Linked DNA regions of Homo sapiens: region 2 is linked to region 1. Evidence: promoter capture Hi-C in 16 types of primary human blood cells and fetal thymus (Javierre and others, 2016). All regions are on one chromosome and are shown on one strand. The core of a region is centred on a gene start or on the middle of the fragment in contact, and the rest is flanking DNA. Distances in the headings are between cores, read along the strand shown.

The links. Contacts are between HindIII fragments. The CHiCAGO score rates a contact against its expected background, and 5 or more counts as called.
Region 2: a fragment that was not itself captured here is called in contact with the fragment with the promoter of SNX33 in region 1 in 2 of 17 cell types (naive CD4 T cells and megakaryocytes); the score reaches 5.7 in naive CD4 T cells.

Annotation. Positions count from the first base shown.
Region 1 is chr15:75,646,194-75,650,252 of GRCh38, forward strand. SNX33 (sorting nexin 33) reads left to right here and starts at 1,719. Exons shown (of 2, transcript NM_153271.2): 1 at 1,719-4,059. The coding sequence starts at 2,910. RefSeq lists a silencer at 1,338-1,877 and an enhancer at 1,503-2,194. The HindIII fragment of the contact is 30,102 bases long and covers 359-4,059 here.
Region 2 is chr15:75,595,729-75,599,787 of GRCh38, forward strand. It overlaps SNUPN (snurportin 1), which reads right to left. Exons shown (of 9, transcript NM_005701.4): 9 at 2,358-2,953. The coding sequence ends at 2,630. Among named protein-coding and RNA genes, the nearest start is that of PTPN9, 18 kb to the left of the region's middle. The HindIII fragment of the contact is 294 bases long and covers 2,040-2,333 here.

The DNA of each region.
Region 1 (4,059 bases), core at 469-2,968:
AATTCAGTTCTGCTTGACAGTTTTATTTCTCTGTGCAAATTGATACCTAGCCTTCTGGGGTTTGTACATAGGCCTTTATTCTGGTCAAATGCCAGACCTGCGAAGGGAGTCGGATCCACTCACTGAACCAGTGAAACTGGGTTTTGGAGCCAGAGGTCTGGGAACCATGTCCCTCAAAACAGCCAAAGGTATCCATCTTTAGCAGAACTACCTTGTACCAGTTAATCTGCAATAAGTGACTAGGGAGAGAATGAAGGGAAGATCTAGCTAGACAGGGTAGACAAGACTCCAGGGTATAGCCAGGAAAGGGAGTCCTCCTGAAGCCTTTGCCTCATCTTAGGCACTTCCTCCTTCAGGAAGCTTTCCTTGATCCTTGCTCTACCCAGGCTGGGGTAGGTACCCTCATGTGCACTTTTCATGGCACTAACTAGTCACACTGGGCAGGGAGCATTTGTCTACTTGTCACAACATATCTGAGCTTTTGGAAAATAAGGATAATGTCTTATTTGTCTTTGTAGCTCAGGGGCCTGGTGCAGAGTAGGTACTCAGTTAATGTTTCTTGAGTGCATGACTTGGCTGAATGAATGACTGAGACAGAATGGATTGATTAAAGACAAGAGAGGGTGGACTGTAAGCCCCCCAGGATAGAAACCCCGACTGCCTTGTGGTGTACTACTCCCCAGTGCCCAGCACAGTGCCTAGCAGAATCAATGCCCAAAGTGTTCCCGATATGCTGACCGAGGGTCAGATCCCACTTGCCTCTTCTCGAAGATTCTCTACCTGACCACTTCTCTCCTTGCTGCCGCTGGCTAGCACAGAACATCCAGTCCCCGCTGCTGTACTAAGCAACACGGAACCGGGTGGCACCTAGACTTGTTCCCTGTCGCTGCAGATGTAGAGTAGTGTCTTTCCCTCCTTCCAAGCTAGTCGCCCAGGGCAGGGTCGCCCTGTCTGGCTAGGGTGCTGCACCCGCAGCTCTCGGTATCTTAGGTCAGACGCCTGGAACGCGCAGGCCGTTTCTGTTCCTCCGGAAAACAATCTCTGAGCTGCGCCACGACCCGTCCCTGCGGAGCAGGAGTGGGGAATGGGAAGGTGGGAAGGCGAGTCCGCGACTCTGCTCCCCAACCCCAGCTGGCGCGGCGGCTTTCCACGCACCCCCCTCCCCCCACCCCGATCTCCCGATCCTGGCTCTGGCGCGGTGCTCCTTGCAGCCCCACGCTTTGCAAACTTTCGGAGTTTTACTCCATTTGCGTCACGGAAAAGGCAGGAGGATGACGGAGTCCAGGAAGCGAGGCAGCGGCAGCTGGCAAGCTCCCCCGCCGGGCGCTCCAACCACGGGGGCGTGAGGTGTCTCCCGGCGAGGGCGGACAGGCGGAGGGAGAGGAGGGGAGGTGGCGGTCCCAGGGACCAGCCCCGGAGGCTCTCGGGCCCCCTCGTTCCCGGGTCGTTTCCTCCCTCTCGCCTCCCGGACTGAGCGCCAGCGAGCGAGGGCGCTGGCCAGCTGGGAAGCCGCGCGGAGGAGTAGGCGGGGGCTCGGCTGCAGCGCCCCGGGCCCGCGGGAGGGCGGAGCTGGCCGTCCCTGCCCCGCCGGGACGCACGGAAGTGCAGCGGAGTTTGCCCGATTCTCCAGCCTGCTTCCCCCTCCCTCCTCCCTCTCCCCACCCCTCACCTCCCCTTTGGCGATCCCCTCCTTCCTCAGGACGCCACCTCCCGGAATCGCCTTTTTGTTTTGGAGCTGCCTTCTCGCTGGCGGAGCGGAGGGTCTGCGAGCGCCGGGGAAGGCAGGCTGGGGGCGCAGCCCGCCCCCCACTGGCCGGGCCCCGCAGGGCGGAGAGGAGGACGGACGGACAGACGGCTGGCCGCGCCATCTGCTCGCCGGAGCTCACTCTCCAAACTCCAAACTGTTGAGTGTGTGCGTGCACGCGAGGGTGGTGATCGGGGGTCGTAAGTCCCGGGTGAGGAACCGGTTTCTGCTGGGGTTACCTTTGGACGGGGTTCCTGGGATTCAGAGCAGGGTCAGCGTCAGGCTCAGAAACTGCTGAGGAATTAGGCAAACAAAAGAGACCACTCAGCGAGTGGCTAGAAGTCGCCCGACAGCCTCGTCGCGCCCCCTCCTTCCTCCGGGGTTGGGGCTGGCCACTTCTGGGGCGGGGAGAGGGCGCCCGAGCCGGCGGGGGCTCCGGCTGCGCAGCCGGGGTCGAAGAGTTGGCGGCCTGTTGTGTAAGCCTCAGTCCTTGTTTTCCCGGCCTGGCTCGTTGTGAAGCCGGACACATCCACCCTTGGACTCGATTCAGGCGGCTGCTGCTTTTCTCCTTGCCCCTCTTGGATTTTCCGGATTTTTGAAAACCCAGTGGCCCAGGAGCAAGAGGAGGAAGGAGGAAGGGGCAGATCTGCAGAGGAATGTGAGAGCCTCCCAAAGCGAGAGCCGCCAAAAGAATCTGGGAGCCAGAGGGACAGCCGAGCCCTGCCCGGGTTTCTGGAATGGTGGTTTCAGAGTGAGTCTCTTCTATTTTAGAACGTTGTTCCAGTGGAAAGTGTCGAATTTTTCCCCTCGCAGGGCAGATTTCTCCAGGTCACTTGACTTTTCTTCTGGGAGTAGGAGTTAGGAGAGATTCCCCTCTAACCCCCCAGAGGCTGCTAAGGGAGGAGGAGACTGTGGACATGAGCCCTCCCTGCTCACAAGCATATGCCCGGAGACCTGATAGGGCAGTTTCTGGGCCATGGACATTGCTTTGAAGAGGGGGAGACTGGACAGCATCTGTGGGTGCTGAGACCCCACCTTAGGACCTGAGAGATTGAACTGTGTAAGCGCCATTCAGCTGCGAGTGCATTCTTGGACTGCCTTGTGAGCATCCCCGGTCTGGGCAGGACCCTCTCCTTCCCATCTTTCTATACCACCCAGCCCAGCCATGGCACTGAAAGGCCGAGCCCTCTATGACTTTCACAGTGAGAACAAGGAGGAAATCAGCATCCAGCAGGATGAGGACCTGGTCATCTTTAGCGAGACCTCACTGGATGGCTGGCTGCAGGGCCAGAACAGCCGTGGGGAGACAGGGCTCTTTCCTGCCTCTTATGTGGAGATCGTCCGTTCTGGCATCAGCACCAACCATGCTGACTACTCCAGCAGCCCTGCAGGCTCTCCCGGAGCCCAGGTGAGCTTGTACAACAGCCCCAGTGTGGCCAGCCCAGCTAGGAGTGGTGGGGGCAGTGGCTTCCTCTCAAACCAGGGTAGCTTTGAGGAGGATGATGATGATGACTGGGATGACTGGGACGACGGATGCACAGTGGTGGAGGAGCCACGGGCTGGTGGGCTGGGCACCAACGGGCACCCTCCCCTCAACCTCTCCTACCCTGGTGCCTACCCCAGCCAGCACATGGCCTTCCGGCCCAAGCCACCACTGGAGCGGCAGGACAGCCTGGCATCTGCCAAGCGAGGCAGTGTGGTGGGCCGTAACCTCAACCGTTTCTCATGCTTTGTGCGTTCTGGAGTGGAGGCCTTCATCCTGGGTGATGTGCCCATGATGGCCAAGATCGCTGAGACATACTCCATTGAAATGGGCCCTCGTGGCCCCCAGTGGAAGGCCAATCCCCACCCATTTGCCTGCTCTGTGGAGGACCCCACAAAACAGACCAAATTCAAGGGCATCAAAAGCTACATCTCCTACAAGCTCACACCCACCCATGCTGCCTCACCCGTCTACCGGCGCTACAAACACTTTGACTGGCTCTATAACCGCCTGCTACACAAGTTCACTGTCATCTCGGTGCCCCACCTGCCTGAGAAGCAGGCCACTGGCCGCTTCGAGGAGGACTTCATCGAAAAGCGGAAGCGGAGACTCATCCTCTGGATGGACCACATGACCAGCCACCCTGTGCTCTCCCAGTACGAAGGCTTCCAGCATTTCCTCAGCTGCCTGGATGACAAGCAGTGGAAGATGGGCAAACGCCGGGCGGAGAAGGATGAGATGGTGGGTGCCAGCTTCCTGCTCACCTTCCAGATCCCCACCGAGCACCAGGACTTGCAGGACGTGGAAGATCGCGTGGACACTTTCAAGGCCT
Region 2 (4,059 bases), core at 937-3,436, 50 kb before region 1:
GTCCCAAACTGAACTCAATACCTTTCCTCCTCAATCCCCCTCAACTGTGCTTTTCCTGGGATCCTTGTCCTTGTTAGTGGCACTCAGTCACCCATATTAGGAATCTAGGAATCATCACAATGATGATTCCATTTCTTATATTTCACAGCTAGTGAGTCACCATGTCCTTTAATTCCCACCTCTCTCTTCATTTCCTCTACAACCTTAATTCAGGCCTTCATCATCTCTCTCATAGGGTACTGCCAGATCCTCCTACCTAGTTTCCCTGCCACTAGTCTTTTCCCCTTTGAATCCATCCCTGCCATAGCAGAGTGATCCTTTCTAAAAATATAGGTTTGATCATGTTACTTCAAGGATGTACCATTGACTGCAAGATACATGTGAAGCTTCTCATCCTGCCATGCAAGTTCATTCATGACCTGACCTTAGTATATCTCTCCAGCCTCATAAATTACCTTGCCTCCTTTGCTGCCTACTTTTCAGTGATGCTGTTTTACAGTTCTGTGTATAAATGCATCTGTTTCATACTTTTCCCCTACACCATCCCCGCTCACTCTGACTTCATTCACCTGGTGGATATACCTATTCGTCTTTGAAGGACTCCATTCAAAAGACACCTGTTTGAACATTTTCCTCTGCAGGTAGAGTAGCCATTCTTTGTGCCCTCCCCATCCATACAGCCAGCTCTCACAGTGATTATAATATTTTATCACACTTATGTATTTACATATATATTTCCCAAACTCAGGGAATAGTCCACAGACTACCGTTACTTTGGATACCAGTTGCAAGTTTGGGGAACCCTAAGACTACCCTCTGGTTATATAATTCGCCACAAGGACTCACAGACCTCATTGAAAGCTGTTATAGTCTCTGGGCGCAGTGGCTCACCCCTGTAATCCCAGCTACTCAGGAGGGTGAGGCAGGAGAATCGTCTGAACTGGGGAGGCGGAGGTTGCAGTGAGCCGAGACTGTGCCACTGCACTCCAGCCTGGGCAACACAGCAAGACTCTATCCCAAAATAAAAAAAAAAAAATCAAGTTGTGATTGTTGATAATTTTGGCTGATATATCCTTTGATTCATGCAGCTGTCCCCAGAGTGTGTGTGCCTGTAGTGCCTGTGTGCGCCCTTTGGGGAAGTAGTCCTTCCAGACCTGATTATTTCTGAACAGAGTATGGCCAAGTCACTATTGACACTAGCATGCATAGCTTCTGAACTGATATGGTTGGCTGCTGATAGCACAGACTAGAGCACTCAGAAAATTATCAAACAGAGACTAAATGTTTAGGCACTTAAAACATGCTCCTTGGCAAGAGGAACACAATGTTCCTATTACAGAATTGACCTAAATTCAGGAAAGAGCTTATTGATGTAGGCAAATGCTTGAATCTGCAGCCAGCAGGATCATCAATGGATGAGGGTGGGAGCGGGGAGTCTTCCAATTTTACAAGGTCAGCTTGAGCAACTCTCTAAGAGCCGACACTAAGACTAGTTCCACTGGATGTACTGAAGTTGTATAATCAGGCTCCAAATAACTACTACCTCTGCCCAAATCTGTTCCCAGAACTAATCAACATGCAGGGACCACTGCATGTCAGACAAGAGCTGACCTGGATCCCTGTGAAAATCTGTCCACAGGACACTAGTGCTGCTGGAGGGAATGGTGAAGTACTTGTATCCATGACAGAGTCCTAGAAAGATGGGAAGCAATATGGGAGCTGACTGAAGCCACAGGAAGTGGGATCCATTTCCTGAATACAAAGCAGAAACTAATTAGTCAGTTTCCAACACAATCTTCCATTCTCACAGCTGCCAAAGACCTCCAGTTCACAAATCTCAAGAGACCTTGCCTGCTCAAAGTTCTTTCTTAGCTCCTTTCATCCATGACACAAAATCTAAAACCTGCTATCTCTCTCCAGCCTCTTCTCCCAAACTGTCCTGGTGGGCTTCTTTTCTCACAGGAGTGTGAGCTCCTCAAGGGCAGGGACTAAGTACTGTCCACCTCCATAACCCCTCTACTTGGCAGGGGCCTAGGACAAGCTTATCTCCTGGTAGGCACAAATGTTTGCTGAAGGAGTGAATGAACTACATTTGCATTTTATCTCTGGCAATGTCTAAACCAAAGAAAATCACACTTGTCTTCTCAGAAGAGGGAACATATTCAAATACCCAGAATTGCAGTTCCTGGTAAAACCTTTCGGCGGCAGCAGCAACTGGAAACTCAGCAGAATCTTTGAGTACTAAAAAGAGTGAAATGGGCCAAGACTTGAACAGCCATGGTTGAAGTAGCCCAGGGGACTGAGATGGGAAGGGGAGATTCATGGCTATCTAAAGCTTAAGAACCACAAACCAGTTCTTTCTTACAAATCACATATATTTACATTGTGGATCTGGGATACACTTATCACAGTAGGAGCTGCTCAAATCAATCTGAATGCTACGCAATCTGGGAACCTCCCCATAACTGTTTGAGCCAGCATTTCAGATTATAGATAAGCTGTTTCCAGCTGGACTGGGTTTGGAAAGTTCACTCTAAAGAATGAAGTCACCTGTTGTCACTGTCCTCCTCTCCAGGATTCCTTTTGGGGCCAGGTACCATCCTGTGGCTCCTTAAGGAGGCTTCTCTCTTTAATTCTCCATGAGGCATCCAGGGTGGTCTGGGCTATGGGAAGAACCCTTCAACTTGGGAGTAGACAGGTGCTCCAATTCATAGTGCCCATTCTCAGAGGCCTTGTGTGTGAGTTTCTCCTTCATGCCTTCCTTCTGGCTCTTCTTGTGCTCCATAATCTGCTGGAGCTGGTGCCCAGCATAGTCTGGCTTGGTGGTCAGCGGGCCAGCCGGCACAGCTACACCAAGGACATCTGACACCATGTAGGGGCGCAGCCAGCCCACCAAGGGAGTGCTTCCGGGGCTGTAGTGGGTCTGTTTGTGGTAGAAGAGAAGTCCATCTACCTATAAGACAAGGGGAAATTGAGGATCAAATGACTTCTGGGGCCACATGTTTCCAGGAGAGCCTATACACACAAGGGCAGCTCTTGTGGTCCGACTCCTTTTTCTGGGTCACTGACAGAGGAAAGAGTCCCAGCTTCTCACACATGCCGTTTCTCTAAATAAAGAAATGGCCTAGAAAACTAAATTTGAGAAAATAAAAACATTGGCTGGGCGTGGTGGCTCATGCTTATAATTCCAGCACTTTGGAGGCTGAGGCAGGCAGATTGCTTGAGCTCAGGAGTTTGAGACCAGCCTGGGCAACATGGTAAGACTCCATTTCTACTAAAAATTCAAAAAAATAGCCAGGCATGTGTGGCACATGCCTGTAATCCCAGCTACTCGGGTGTCTGAGACACGACAACCGCTTGAACCCAGTAGGCAGAGGATGCAGTGAGCTGAGACTGCACCACTGCACTCCAGCCTGGCGACAGAGTGAGACTCTGTCTCAAAAAAAGAAAAAAAAAAAGGAAAGGATAAACATAAATAGCACTTTCCTGTTTACAGAGTGCTTTCCTGCCCACTATTTTACTATCTTACCCATGACGGTGTCTGAGAGATGGGGCTGCTCATACTCAGGGAGTTCTGAGGACCTCCTTAAAACACACAGTGAGTAGGAAGCAGGACTTCAACTTGAACTCTGGTCTTCTGTCCCCAGATTCCACGGACTTTCCACCACTTAGGGGTCTGTGTTGTGGTGGATGAGCTCTGTGCATGGAATGAAAAGCAGAGGAACTGGACAGGCCCCTCCGGGGCAGCAGATTGCTGCACACAGTGGAAACAGGCTGTCCAGATGCCCTGCTTCCCTGGCTACTGTTGGTTGCCTAAACCTCCCCCTAAATTGTTTGTGAGCCATGTTCTGGGAAACAGTTTTTCTCAACGGGAAGACCTCCTACAGTCCCACATTTTATTTTCTATGATTCAGTGACTCATCTCTAAAAAGCATTTATTGTCACTGGGGCATAAGGGTTATAAATAAAGATGGTATTCTTACCACCTTCTTAATTGACTCCCAGAAATGCTGGCAACTCAGCCTTTGCCATTTCCTTATTTGGGAAGCTGTGATCCTT